Linked DNA regions of Homo sapiens: regions 1, 2 and 3 are each linked to region 4. The links are contacts of gene promoters, found by promoter capture Hi-C in blood cells and fetal thymus (Javierre and others, 2016). All regions are on one chromosome and are shown on one strand. Each heading gives the region's core, a stretch centred on a gene start or on the middle of the fragment in contact. The rest is flanking DNA. Distances are from core to core; before and after follow the strand shown. Region 1 overlaps FLT1 (fms related receptor tyrosine kinase 1). Region 2 has its middle 3.5 kb from the start of POMP. Region 3 overlaps FLT1 (fms related receptor tyrosine kinase 1). Region 4 holds the start of FLT1 (fms related receptor tyrosine kinase 1).

Region 1 (3,470 bases), core at 483-2,982, 190 kb before region 4:
TTCGTGTCAAACTCTAGATGGGTGGGGTGGAGTACAGGACCACCGAGTTGTAGTCTGGGGGCGGGGAGCAGCACGCGATTTTCCTTTCCAGCTCAGCGTGGTCGTAGGTGAACCTGCGCTTGCCTTCGCTGACGTGCCCACAGCTGGAATGGCAGAAACTGGGCCTGCTGACATCAGACAGCCCCGACTCCTTACTTTTACTGGTTACTCTCAAGCTAAAGAAAGAAAGGAAAGAAATCAAATATTCAAAATTGGTTTTTTAGAAAACAAAGACACTAAAATCTACTCTTTCTGAGTGGGTCATTTGTTCATACCTGTCTAGAGTTCATGGTTTTGGAACCCCCCCCCCCTCAATTGCTGTCAGATTTCCTCTGTTCTAAAGCTGCACACGGCCTCCCTCTTAACAGCTTGGTGTCATTGGGCAGAAAGACAGTGGCTGGGGGAGGGTATGAAATGTATGATAAGATAACGCAAATCCATAATCCAGGTGGAAAGTAACTCCAAGACTTGGGTGCAGCCCTCTCCTATTCTTGGGTCAAACAGCTTCTGTGGTAGGCTGAGAAATGCCTCCTACCCTCCAAAATATTCAAATTTTTCATATTTTATATCCCTTCTGGCCTCCAGAACTGCAAGAGAATAAATTTCTCTTGTAAGTTGCCAAGTTAGTGGTAACTTGTTACAACAGTCTCAAAAAACAATAAAGCTCCACACACACAAGTGAGTGCCTCTCTGCCTGTCGTGCCTGTGTTCTAGAAGAGGAAACGTTTTAGTCACGGTGCTGCTTATCACCAGCAAGGCTCAAGGGTGGAGAAACTTGCTTCTGGGTCCTCTGTGTTACATCCAGACTAGGACAGACACCTGAGGAAGAAGCGCTGCTCTTGCCCTTTAATATTCGTTCAAATTTTTTATTTTCAAAGGATCTGGGATGAGGCAGGGAACCCGTGAAGCTTGTTTTAGACCGGTCTGGACTAACGTGTCCATGTTCTATATTTTCAGTCTCAGAGTAGAGGATACAATTTATGGTCTTCTTTAACAAATATCTAGATAAAATTAGTCACCACCCATTTTCTGAAGTGTTCCAAAGTAGGAAACAAAAGAGCAAGTATCCTACCTTCCCCTTTGATCCATTCATTCCTCATTGGTGCCTCTGATCTACTGTAACTCAATTCTAATACCACTGTGCTCATGTGAAAAGGAAACACACACGCAGATGTTTGCCTGGAAATGCCCCTGTCTTTCCCATTTACTTGTGGCCGATGAGTTGTGCTAACTACATCACTTGGAGGCACTTGTTGCCATCCTTTGATTTAGATCAGGGTTCAAAAACTATAACCCATATCTGCCCACCTGTCTGGTGTTTTTTTTTTTAATGAGAGCTTTATGGAGATATAATTTACATAGTGCATAATTCGCCTATTTAAAATGTGTAAGCCAATGGTTTTTTGTATAGACACAAATTGTGCAACCATCACCATAATCAACTTTAGAGCGTTGTCATCATCCCCCAAAACGCACACCTGTTAGCAGTCTTTCTTCCTCACGCCCTCCAGCCCCAGCCCAAGGAAACTACTGGTCTACTTTCTGTCTCTAGATTTACCAATTCTGGGCATTTCATGTAAAAGGAATCATGCAATAGGAAATATTTTATGACTGGCTTCTTTTACTTAGCATAATATTTTCAAGGTTCATCCATATTGTAGCATGCATGCATACTTCACACTTTTTATTGACAATATTATATTGTGTGGATATACCATACTTTATTCATTGAGTCATCAACTGATGGATATTTAGGTTGTTTCTACTTTTGGCTATCATGAATAATGCTGCTATGAACATCTGTGTGCAAGTTTTGCTGTGGACATCAGTTTTCATTTCTCTTGAGTATATGCCTAGGAGTTGAATTGCTGAGTCTCGGGATAACTGTTTAACCTTATGGGCAACAGCTAAACTGTTTTCCAAAGTGACTGCCCCATTTTACATTTCCACCAGCAGTGTATGAGGGTTCCAATTTCTCCATATCCTCGCCACACTGACTTCATCTAGCTATCCTCATGGGCGTAAAGTGGTATCTTATGGTAATTTCTTTCCCTTTTTTCTCCCTCTGTCACCCAGGCTAGAGTGTAGTGGTGCAATTGTGGCTCACTGCAGCCTCAACCTCCCAAGCTCAAGTGATCCTCCCACCCCAGCCTCCCAAGTAGCTGGGACTACAGGCACATGCCAGCACACCCCGGCTAATTTCTGTAGTTTTAGTAGAGAAAGGGTTTTGCCATGTTGCTCCCGGGCTCAAGTGATCCACCCACCTCAGCCTCCCAAAGTGTTGAGACTACTGCATGAGCCACCACACCCAGCCCCTCATGGTAGTCTTGATTTGTATTTCCCTAATGACTGATGATGTTGAGCATCTTTTCGTGTACTCACTGGCCATGCCCACCTGTTTCTGTAAATACAGTGTGTGGGAACAGAGCCATGCCTACTTGATGATGTATTGTCTACGGTTGCTTTTTATACTATAATGCAAGCTTGCCCAACTTGTGGCCCACGGGCTGCATGAATCCCAGGATGGCTTTGAGTGCAGCCCAACACAAACTCGTAAACTTTCTTAAAACATTCTGAGATTTTTTTGCAACTTTTTTAGCTTACCAGCGATTGTCAGTGTCCGTGTATTTCATGTGTGACCCAAGATAATTATTCTTCCATTGTGGCCCAGGGAAGTCAAAAGATTGGACACCCCTGCTAATGGCAGTAGGGAGCATTTGCTGACTATCTAGCCCTTTAAAAAAATGGCTGCCTACCCCGGATTTAGGTGAAAGAGGAAAAGGTTCTGCCTTCGGGTGAGACAGGGACAGGCATTTGAATGAGGAAAGGAAGGAACATCCGACAGGTGCAGCTTTTCCCAGTCCAGCACCATTGCAAGGTAGAGACTCGCACAGAGAAGCTGCAGTGGCATTCGGTGGTGCATAAGGCAAGGACTCCCCAGTGGTGGCCACGGCGTGGAGGGAGGAGCTGGTGGACTACAAGCCAGGGCTTTGTGGAGAAATTGTCAAGTGAGAAAAGGGTGCCAGGATGAAATGGGAAAGTCATTCATCTGTAGGGGCTGAGCTCTCAGGGTACAGGTCTTAGCCCCGGAAAACAGTACTGTGTCTCCTCGTGTATGAACCCTGCCGGCATAGGGAGTGACAGCGGGGGCATCCTCTCCCACCGCCGGGAGCGTGTCTCTGTCTGCACCACGCATAGGTGGGCACATCAGGCTTCTTTCACCTGAGGCACTGTGCTGGCCACATCTGGACTGCCTGTCTTTGCAAGATTTTCTGCATGTTTTCCCCAGAGCTTGCTGCTCATATGTCCCGTTTGATGTTCCCCTTTTTTTGCCCTCTGGGGGGAAATGGTTTTCTGCAACTCCCGGATACCACAGTTCAGGAGGGCAAGTAGTCCTCAAACATCCCTCATTATACCACCTTCCCCCAGCA
Region 2 (3,695 bases), core at 1,038-3,537, 160 kb after region 4:
TGCATTGCTTCTGGAAGAAAAAACAAAAAAGTCAAATACCAACCATACAATCAGAATGTCGCAGGCCATCTTTTTCAGCTCTCTGATTCTGCATCGACTTTCTAATTCTGAATAAGATTAATGTAAACTGCTTTCAAGGTAACATTCTGGTGTGTTTTGAGTAGGCTAAATTTCTTTCCTCAAGTCTGTATCTTCAGGGAATAAATTTTTGAATTTTCAAAATACAGATATTCCCACTAATTATTCATGCCAGTGGAGGGGAATACTGACACTATCCAAAAATATAATGGAATTGAAACCATCATGTATACATGTATATATTAGGCTTTGTGAGGCTCTGCACATGATACTTTTGGCAGATATGCTTTCTGAATTAAATTTTTATTTGGCTAATATTAAAATTACTCCATGCTCCCACATGTGGGCTGGCAAATGATGGGAGAAGGCTATAGTAAAAGAAATAGGTGTAGAATTTAAAACTCATTGCATATAATCTATCAGCTGTATGCTGTGCAGGCAAATGAATAGATTATGGTGAAAATATAAACCAATTCTGAGCACAGACAGACCTAAAATAGGGCTACAAAAGCATGAAAAATGGAATGCTAACTTGCGCCATGTCTGATGCAATGCAGATGTAAAGTAGTAAAATAAAACTCCTGGATTCCAAATAGTCTACTCTAGTACTTATTCTCAAAACCCAGCTTTTCATAATCAGCAGACACTCTTTTAAAAGCAGCTGCATCTGAAATTATAGCTAGTAAAATATTTCAAAATATGAAACACTCATCTCTTAGGGTTAAAGGGTCAAATGAACTTGATATTTCTCCATCTCTTAACACATAGGAAGGGGCTTGCAGAGAAGATTTGTAAATATGACTTATCCTAAATTATGCATATTGAACCCTTCCCAACACTGTAAGAATTTAAATCATTTAAAGAAGATCTGGATATATTTTTTATAACTTATAGATTCTTTTCAGGCCCTCGAAAACCTAGTAATTTTCTTATTGTTTAAGATTTGTATAATACCACTACCCTTATATGAACTACTCCTCCACCCCTAGCCTTGTAGGGAAGCATAATTTTTTTTTTTTTTTTTTTTTTTTTTGAGACAGGGTCTCGCTCTGTCGCCCAGGCTGGAGTGCAGTGGCACCATCTCGGCTCACTGCAACCTCCACCTCCTGGGTTCAAGTGATTCTCCTGCCTCAGCCTCCCGAGTAGCTGGGATTACAGGCGTGCACCACCATGCCCAGCTAATTTTATATTTTTAGTAGACACAGGGTTTCACCATGTTGGCCAGGCTGGTCTTGAACTCCTGACCTCAGGTGATCCACCTGCCTCAGCCTCCCAAAGTGCTAGGATTACAGGAGTGAGTCTCTGCGCCTGGGCCTGCCTCCTTTTTCTAACAGCTGCATCTTTGTCCTTGATTCCCTCTCACAACTGTTCTGGGCATCTGAGAGATCATTATCTCAATCATTCCTTCTTGCTGCTTCTCTTCCCTGCTGTCTTCACTCTTGCCCCTTCACCAACTCTTTCTAACATCTGCCTAACAAACTTTGGTCTGTCCAATCATGCACATGAAACAAAAACAAAACCCAACTTTCATTCAAACCAAAATCCTGATTCTATTTTTTGAAATGGACAACTTTCTGAAAAGAATGATCTATAAAATTTGGCTGCCTCCATTTTCTTCTTATAAATTCTTCATTCCTAACAATCTGGTTTATAGTTAAACTGCTCACCAGAAGATTATGCAAATGACATCCCATTTGCCAAACCCCATCGATCTTCCCATAATCATTATCTGACATCACTGGTCATTCCCTTATCTCAACATCGTATCTTCCTTAGCTCTGAGACATTTTCAGACCTCTCTTCTCTATGCCTCTTCCAGCTTCTTAAGTTCTAAAGAGACACTCACTACATACTAGATTTCAAAATCCTGCTGAGTACCTGCCTAAAGTATGCAAGGCACTGTGCTGTGGAGACAAAGCAGCTTTTAAGAGGGGGCTAACCAAGCAGGCTGGGTAATAGGGTTTGGGTGCCCAGGGCCAAGCTTAGGCAAATAACAGAAAAGAGCAAAGTTAAGTGTAATTTTAGATCGTTAGGGAGCACTAAAATTTAGGTCAGAAGACCCAAATTCAGCTGACAAGATGAAGTACAAGAATAGTACCCAAACAGGAGACAGATGAGGTAACAAATGGGGAAAGAGCTAGGAGGAGGGAGGAGGGTTCTTGCCAGATGTGAATGAAGCTGAATTTGTCCTCAGTTTACCTAGCTATGTCACCAGACTGACTTAAGAGTAAAGTCAAAGACGACTACAAAAAGTAAAACAAAATAGGGTGCTTGTTCTCATACAATGCCTCAGCATTTTCTGTGAAATGTGCATAATGATAGTATCTACCTCACAGGATTAATTGAAACAATATATGCAAAAAACTAAACCCTGGCCTGACATGTAACAAATGTTAGCTATCATTACTAATGTTCTATCCTCTAAGCTATTTAACATAAAGCTTAAGTAAACATAATTAAATCATTCCAGCATCAAATCTAATTTACTTCTTATTTAGCATACTCAAAAGTACCCCGTATTAGTTAATACTGTAACAAACCATTTAAAATAGGACATAAACTTGAGTGTAAGACTCAAAATAAAGGGAATTTTCTCCTTGCTGAGCCACTAAAACAACTCTTCACACTGGTCACCAAAAGCCTATTTTCAGGGCTTTATGATCCCTTTTTAGCTACTTTTGAACTACTTTCTAACCTCTCAATACTTCCTTGCCCTTTTGATTCGAAGATGGCATAGCCTTTAAAGCAGGCTCCCCTTCTTCTGGCTGTCTTTTGAATTCTGGTATTTCTTAGGTTCACTCCTACTTTTTCCTTCCTTTCAAAGCCTTTCCAGTATGTGACACTACCTTAGCGTACCATTAGTGGCTTAAATGGTATCCTGGTTCCTACTTTCTCCCAATCTTAGTCTGTCCTTCATGCTGCCACCAGAATTTTTTTTTTTTAATGCCAAATGTTTGTGAAAAGACCTCCATTATCTCCTGTTGTCTATAAGAAAAAGCCCTAAACCTCAGCATACCATAGAAGGCCCTTCGTTTTGGCCCCAACCTGTCCCTCCAACCTCATCTCATTTTGCTTCACCTGCTCACCCAGAGCTCCAGCCACAGGGAAATGTTTTCCATTACTCAGATAACAACACGACTTTTCACAGATCTCTTGCCTTTACATGTTCCTCTTCCGTGAATGCTGTTTTCTCCTGCTCCCAACAACTTTCTGGTTTAGCCCCTTTCTCTATCAAGCATTTATCACACTGCATTTTATTATTTTATTATTATTATTTGAGATGGAGTCTTGCTGTGTCACCTAGGCTGGAGTGCAGTGGCGTGATCTCTGCTCACTGCAACCTCTACCTCTCAGGTTCAAGCGACTCTCGTGCCTCAGTCTCCTGAATAGCTGGGACTACAAGCATGCACCATGATGTCTGGCTAATTTTTTTTTTTGTATCTTTAGTAGAGATGGGCTTTTGCCATGTTGGCCAGGCTGGTGTCGAACTACTGACCTCAAGTGATCTGCCTGCTTCCAGCTCCCAAAGTGCTAGGATTACAGGTGTGAGCCACTGCACCCAGCCCATGCTGCATTTTAAATATCTGTTTGCATGTCTATTTCCCCAGGAAAATATA
Region 3 (3,643 bases), core at 170-2,669, 130 kb before region 4:
GGTGTTGGGAAAACTGGATATCTACATACAGAAAAATGAAAATGGACCCTTCTCTCATCCCTTATATAAAAATGAACTCAATATGGATTAAAAACTTAAATGTAAGACCAGAAACTATAAAACTACTAGAAGAAAATGTGGGGGAAAAACTCCACGATATTGGTCTGGGAAGAGATTTCTTGGATATGACCCCAAAAGCACAGGCAACGAAAGCAAAAATAGGCAAATGGGATTGCATCAAACTAAAAACCTTTTGCACAGCAAAGGAAACAATTAATAGAGTGAAGAGACAACCTACAGATTGGGAAAAAGTATTTGCAAATCATACATCAGATAAGGAGCCAATATCCAAAATATACAAGGAACTCAAACTACTCAATAACAAGGAAACCAATAATCCTATTTAAAAATGGGCAAAGAAATCAAATAGACATTTTTCAAAAGAAGACAGATGGCCAACAGTTATATGAAAAAAATACTCACCATCTCCAATCACAAAAATGTAAATCAAAACCAAATGAGGCCAGGTGCAGTGGCTCATGCCTGTAATCCCAGCACTTTGGGAGGCCGAGGTGGGCAGATCATCTGAGGTCAAGAGTTCAAGACCAGCCTCGCCAACATGATGAAACCCAGTCTCTACTAAAAATACAAAAATTAGCGGGGTGTGGTGGCGAATGCCTGTAATCCTAACTACTTGGGAGGCTGCAGCAGGAGAATCACTTGAACTGGGGAGGCAGAGGTTGCAGTGAGCGAGATCGTGCCACTGCACTCCGGCCTGGGTGACAGAGCGAGACTTTGTCTCAAAAAACAAGAAAAAAACCAAATGAGATAGCACCTCACACCTATTAGATTAGCTATTATTAAAAAGATAAAAGATCACAAGTGTTGATGAGGATGTGGAAAGAAGGGAACCCTTATACACGGTTGGTGGCATTATAAATTGTTACGGCCATTTTGGAAAACCATATGGAGCCTCTCAAACAACTAAAAAGAAAACTGCTATATGATCTAGCAATCCCACTACTGGGTATCTACCCAAAGAAATTGAAATCAAGGATGCTGAAGAGATGTCTGCATTCCCATGTTTATTGCAGCATTATTCACAATAGCCAAGATATGGAGGCAACCTATGTGTCCATCAATGGATGAATAGATTTTTAAAATTTGGTGTATATATACAATGGAATACTACAGCCTTAAAAAATAACAGGAAATTCTGTCATTTATGACAATATGGATGAACCTAGAGGACATTATGTTGAGCGAAATAAGCCAGGCACTGAGAGACAAATGCTGCATGATTTCACTTATATGTGGAATCTAAAAAAGTTGAACTCATAGATGTAGAGAGTAGAGTGATGGTTACCACAGGCTGGGGTGGGGAGAGTTGGATACGGACAGGGAAGATATTGGTCACTGGGTACAAAGTTACAGTTAGATAAGAGGAATATGTTCTGGCATTCTATTACACAGCAAAGTGACAACAGCTAAAAATAATGCACATTTCAAAATAGCTAAAAGAGGATTTTAAGTGTTCCCACCACAAAGAAATGATATTTGAGCTGATGGGTATGCTAATCAGGCTTATTTGATCCTTCCCATTGTATACATGTATTAATATTAAAACATCACACTGTACCCCATGCATATATATAATTATTATTATTTGCCAATTAAAGAAATGGAAAAGGCCGGGCACGGTGGCTCATGCCTGTAATCCCAGCACTTGTGGGAGGCCGAGGTGGGTGGATCATGAGGTCTAGGAATTCGAGACCAGCCTATCCAATATGGTGACACCCCGTCTCTACTAAAAATACAAAAATTAGCCGGGCGTGGTGGCTCATGCCGGTAGTCCCAGCTACTCGGGAGGCTGAGGCAGAAGAATTGCTTGAAGCCGGGAGGCAGAGCTTGGAGTGAGCCAAGATGGTGCCCCTGCACTCCAGCCTGGGTGACAGAGCAAGACTCCATCTCAAAAAACAAAAAAAAAAGAAATGTAAAAAACACACAAACTCCAAACACCTACAATCTCACCTCCCAGATGTTGTTTCTTTAGTCTTTCTAAAGTGTACTTTCTGAAAACACAGTTTGTTCATTTATATAACAAATATTTTTTGAGCTCCTACTACGTACTAGACACTATTCTAGATACTGGTGATACACTATCAAGCAGAAGAAATCCTTGCCTACAAATTCTAGTTTTGGAGAATTACAAAGTGAGTATCAACAGATTAAGGTATTAGAGAAACCAGAGGAGACAACAATGAATTAAGTATGAACAAAAGATCTGAGGGATGGAGACAAATTATAAGGGTAATAACTTGCTTATTTTTGTAAGAAAGGAAATAAATAGCAAGAGTGGAGGATGAGCAGTATCGTCTAAAAAATTAAAAACACAAAACTTTGCTGATTTGATAGATGAAAATGATTGTTTTAATTTGTATTTCTTTGAACATTTTTTCATGTGTGTATTAGCCATTTTTATTTCAAAAGACCTGTTTTGAGTAGGTGACTGGAAAAGGTGAATTCAGATTAAGGAGAGCTTTGAAATCTTGGTTGAGGAGTTTCAATTCCATGTAGAAGGAAAGAGAATCACAAAGATTTTTGAGCATAGTGAAAGCGACATTTAAGGACGTTCAGTCTAGAAGGAGAATACAGCTGGACTGGAATGAGGAAAGCATAGCATCTGCAAGTCCTGCTCATCAGTTGTAATTCAGGCAAGGAATGATGAGGTCTCAAATCTGGATGGTGGGAAAGGAAGTAGAGAGGAAGAAATGGAAACAGATACTTTGTAGAAACAACCTATAGGAATTGGTGCTTTACTGGATACAGCAATAGAAAAAGAGAGAGATGAGTCCAAGGTGATTCCAATATTTTAAACCCAGATAACAGGGAAAAAATGACAGCTCTTCCCCATAACCTTGGCTAAGTCACTTAATCTTTTTGGGGCAAGTTCCTTACCTGTAAAATGAGAATAATACCTGCTCCACCTATTTCATGATCAATTGAGATAGCTTAAATGGAAGCATTGAAGCTTTGAGAAGTATAAGATATAGTACAAGTGGCAATCACAGAAAATAAAAGTGTGGCTGTACAGTTGCTCCGGGTCAATGAACATTTATAAGAGCAGCTATCTTGCTACCTACAATCATTACAATAATCTCCATTGCAGCAGATCTGAAACTCAGCCAATTTTCTATCACTCAAATCCCAACTCAAGGATAGCATCATGGGCTGGGCACAGTGGCTCATGCCTATAATCCCAGCACTTTTGGAGGCCGAGGTGGGCAGATCGCTTGAGCCTAGGAGTTCGAGACCAGCCTGGGCAACATAATGAGACTCCATCTCCACTAAAACTTGGAAAAAACAACAACAACAAAAAACAGGCTGGCACCATGAGTAAATAAAGTTAAAGGACTTGGATTTCACTCAAGGAGAGTGTGTAATTATGAAAGGTGAGAGATGGTAGCCAGGATGCTCATGAGCTAACATCATCTGGCACAGATTCCTCTTTCTAGCCCAAGGAGGAGAGGAGATGGGGTGAGAAGGTGTCCAAATTCAACAGGCAAAGCTCTTCTTTCTGATATGCCCTCTATTGTACTATAACAAATGACACAGAGACATTGATGCTTCCCCATCAGATAGG
Region 4 (3,488 bases), core at 613-3,112:
CAAGTGACTTTTCAAAACAAAAAATGTATTTGTGAAATAGAAAATACAACATTTTATTTAATATAGTTATGTTAGCACCTTTCCCAACCTACAGTGAGTTCTCAGAAGTTACCACTTCGCCCTGTCTCCGGGTTTAGTAGTTTCTCCAATCTAATTGGAACTATTACTTGTTACTTGGAAACTGACGGTCTAGTTAGTCTTCCCACTGAGAAAGAATATTTAATTATTACTGCTTTTTGGGTTTAACAAGCTTTTTGTTGTTGTTGTTGTTGTACTACGCTCCATCCTATTGACTTTTCTTCCCGGGAATCATTGCAATGACTTATTTTATATTACTATATTTTATTTCATATTTTACCTTTTCTCCACGATGCTTAAAAGAAAGGCGCTCCGAAATCTGGCTCTCTGCGCCCAGGGGAACGAGGCACAAATCTCCGCCACTCAGCCCCACTGAGCAGAGACTGCGAGTCCGAACCCTCAAGTTCCTCGGGGCTTTGACCCCTCAATGGCGGCGGTCTAACTGCTGGTAAAACCCCCGGCCCCTGACTGTTCCACCGCCCGTCTCCCAAACGCCCAGCGAAGGCTGACTTAGGTGGCGGGCGGACCTCATCGATTCCTCAAACCACATCGTTTGGTCAAAATCGCCCGCCCTCTCTTCGCTCGGATTTTAAAGGCTAGGCTTGTAAGTCAGTAAGTTAACGGTATTTGGGCCCTGGGCTGCCCTTGTGGGTCAGGGTCACTGATGTCCGCGACACGGACTGGACCGCGCACCACGCCTGCTCCCGGCAGAGGCCCCACCCGGGTGGCTGAGCGCAGCGCACTGGGGCCCCGCGGTCCGAGAGCGGCGGGGAGGAGCGGGCGCTCGCCGAGCGTTCCCCGGGACAGTCCGGCTTGGGGACTCAAGCGGGTCATGGGATGCCGGCGCTGGCCCTCTCCTGAGATCCTCCTGCTCCCCCGCAGGCACGAGTCCCCTCCAAATCGGCTCCCCTCCTACACTCTCGTGACGCGAGGTCGCGGCCAGTGCCCAATATCACCAAAGTCCCGGCCTCAGCCCAGCCCCGGGCAGCCTGGCAGGCTTTCAGGAGCCTCTGCTCCCGGCTCCGGGGGACCCTGCGTACCTGCCCCAGGTCCTCTGGGAATGGGCTCTGGGTGCCAGGCAGGTCCCGGTGCGTGCTGCTCCTAGTGCCCAGGGCCTCGGCAGTGAGACCCCAACCCGACAGCTGGATAAGGGATCAGCGATCCTGTCGCAAACGGACAGCCCCAGCGCGGACCCGGTCTGAGCGCTGATGCTCGCGGGTCCAGGCCAGCCACTCCTCGAGGCGCTCCCTCGGAGAAAGGGCGCAGCGGCCCCAAGCGTGCCCGCTGCAACTAGTGTCCCAGGTTCTCGCCGTAGCCAGCTTCTCCGGGCTACAGCCTCGTCTCCCCGCGTGCACCCCGCCCTGGCCTCGGAGGCTCTGCCCTCCGGCCGCCCCATCGCAGCCCGCCTCAGGCCCCGGCCCCCAGCCGCGCCTCACCTGTGAGAAGCAGACAGCTGAGCAGCGCGCACAGCAGGACCCCGGTGTCCCAGTAGCTGACCATGGTGAGCGCGACGCGGCCTGCTCGCCCGGTGCCCGCGCTCCCCGCGGCCAACGACCCGGCCGCCAGAGTCCGTCCTCTCGTTCGCCGCCGCCGGCCCCGCGCCCTGAGCGCCCGTCTCGCGGCTCCAGCCAGGAGACAACCACTTCCCCGGGTAATCCTCGCCGCCAGGCGCCCGCTGGCCGCTGCACCCGAGCCCCGGAGCCCGCTCCGAGCCGCCGCCGCTGCCGGGGAGGAGCCGAGAGGAGTGTCCGCCTGGCGCGCTCCGAGCCTCCCGCGGACCTCGATGAAGAGCAGCCGAGGGCGGGGGCGATTTATAACCTTTCCCCAGCCCACTTCCTACCCCGGCACCTCCTTCTGGTGACGTCAAGGGGTCCCCCACCCCTCATCCGCCTCCCCACCTACCCTCTTCTTCCTCCCAGGCTCGCTTCCCTGCGGCTACGGAGAGGGGCGGGGGCCGACGAGGGCGGGTGGCCCGGGGCCGAGCGCGCGTGGGGAGGTGCTGGCGACGCGGGCCCGGGAGCGCGGCCCCGGCAGGTTCAGGGTCTTTGCTCCGCGCCCTCTTGCCCTTGCCCCTCCTCCTGCCCATCGCGCTCAGGAAATCCTTGCAGACTCCCTCCACCCGGCTTACTCAGCTCTGGGGGCCGCCCGAAACTGGGGAAGGGACAAGGCTGAAGCTCCGCCGCCTGGCCCTAGGGGCGGAAAGTCCGATCCAAGGGAAGCTGGCCGCGCCTCCGCGACGGTGTTCTTGGCACGGAGGACTGAGGCGCAGTCCGGCTGTCTCCCCTTGCCTGCTCTTCCCGCGCTGTCCCGCCGCTCCTGACCCCTTCAGACTGTCCCGAGAAGTCTAGGAAGGCACCGGAGACCCTCGGCACAAGGCACTGAACCTGGAGCGCCTGAGGGGAACTGACGCTTGCTTGGCACCTTTGGGAAGACTGCGAACCAGCTCAGGTCCCAGGGGAGCGTGTCCGTGTCTTTTTCGGCCGCATTGATGCACCCGCCCAAGTCATTTCCTCAGTCTTCTGCTTCCTAGAAGCAAAACAAGGAATAACATTATGATACCTTTAAAAAGCTGAGGCGTGAAACTGCTCCTGCAACTTGGAAGCGCAGGGCACTTGAACTTTATTCCCTAAATGCTCGAAAAAGAAATCTTTCTGGTGGCAGCTTGCTACTCAAGATGAGTGACTCTGACCACAACCGGCTGAAATTAACTTGAGGCCCTAGATCATTTGCTATGACACTAATTCCACGTTGTTCCTCAATTATGTCTCCATTACCTCAAAGGCTGAAGTCGTCCTGGCTGCACGGAGCAGCCCAGTCTTGTCTCTGTAAATACCGCAGATTTGAAAAATAGTCCTATTGGAACCCGTCAGAGGGATGTAATACAAGGGACTGTGATGGCTCTTGAACGGAGCCAGAGACTCTTCCTGAAGGACTGGACTACCTCCCCGCCTAGGAAGGTTGGGTAACCCAAAGTTGCCACATTTCTGGGCTGCACACCAAGGAGAGGCCCCGGCCACTCCACACAGGAAATGCACGTCTGGGCACCTGGAGCCGCAGGACCTGAGCCACTAACTGTCCCTGGATCCCTTCTGCTTCAGAGGCAAGGAAGACTGCCGGAGTCATTGCTTGCCTGCTGGCTTCACCAGCGCTTTCTGTTTTTCCAGTTCTCCTCACCACTCTTCCTGGCGCCTTTCTCTGCCTCCCGCACCCCTGCCTCCTCTAAAACCCACAGCATCATCCCTCAGAACAGCTGGAAGCGGACAGCTGATCCTTCTCCTTGCTGGTCCCCCAGCCCAGAACACAGCCTGGGACATACGTGCGGAGCCACAGTGTCTGTTGGTCTCACCTGAGAGCTGCTTGTCACTCCCACACCCTCTTTCAAGGAGAAGCTGTCAGCATTGTCCTTCTGC

Evidence for each region. Contacts are between HindIII fragments. The CHiCAGO score rates a contact against its expected background, and 5 or more counts as called.
Region 1: a contact is called between a fragment that was not itself captured here and the fragment with the promoter of FLT1 in region 4, in 2 of 17 cell types (endothelial precursors and M1 macrophages). The highest score is 5.7, in endothelial precursors.
Region 2: a contact is called between a fragment that was not itself captured here and the fragment with the promoter of FLT1 in region 4, in 4 of 17 cell types (M2 macrophages, M0 macrophages, M1 macrophages and 1 more). The highest score is 9.6, in M2 macrophages.
Region 3: a contact is called between a fragment that was not itself captured here and the fragment with the promoter of FLT1 in region 4, in 1 of 17 cell types (monocytes). The highest score is 8.0, in monocytes.

The regions. Positions count from the first base shown.
Region 1 is chr13:28,303,154-28,306,623 of GRCh38, forward strand. It overlaps FLT1 (fms related receptor tyrosine kinase 1), which reads right to left. Exons shown (of 30, transcript NM_002019.4): 30 at 1-215. The coding sequence ends at 14. Among named protein-coding and RNA genes, the nearest start is that of PAN3-AS1, 170 kb to the left of the region's middle. The HindIII fragment of the contact is 1,575 bases long and covers 946-2,520 here.
Region 2 is chr13:28,653,802-28,657,496 of GRCh38, forward strand. No RefSeq gene overlaps it. Among named protein-coding and RNA genes, the nearest start is that of POMP, 3.5 kb to the right of the region's middle. The HindIII fragment of the contact is 460 bases long and covers 2,058-2,517 here.
Region 3 is chr13:28,359,308-28,362,950 of GRCh38, forward strand. The region is part of intron 14 of FLT1 (fms related receptor tyrosine kinase 1); the gene reads right to left. Among named protein-coding and RNA genes, the nearest start is that of FLT1, 130 kb to the right of the region's middle. The HindIII fragment of the contact is 3,220 bases long and covers 1-3,029 here.
Region 4 is chr13:28,493,266-28,496,753 of GRCh38, forward strand. FLT1 (fms related receptor tyrosine kinase 1) reads right to left here and starts at 1,863. Exons shown (of 30, transcript NM_002019.4): 1 at 1,515-1,863. The coding sequence starts at 1,578. RefSeq lists silencers at 1,349-1,398, 1,479-1,598, 1,719-1,768. The HindIII fragment of the contact is 4,512 bases long and covers 249-3,488 here.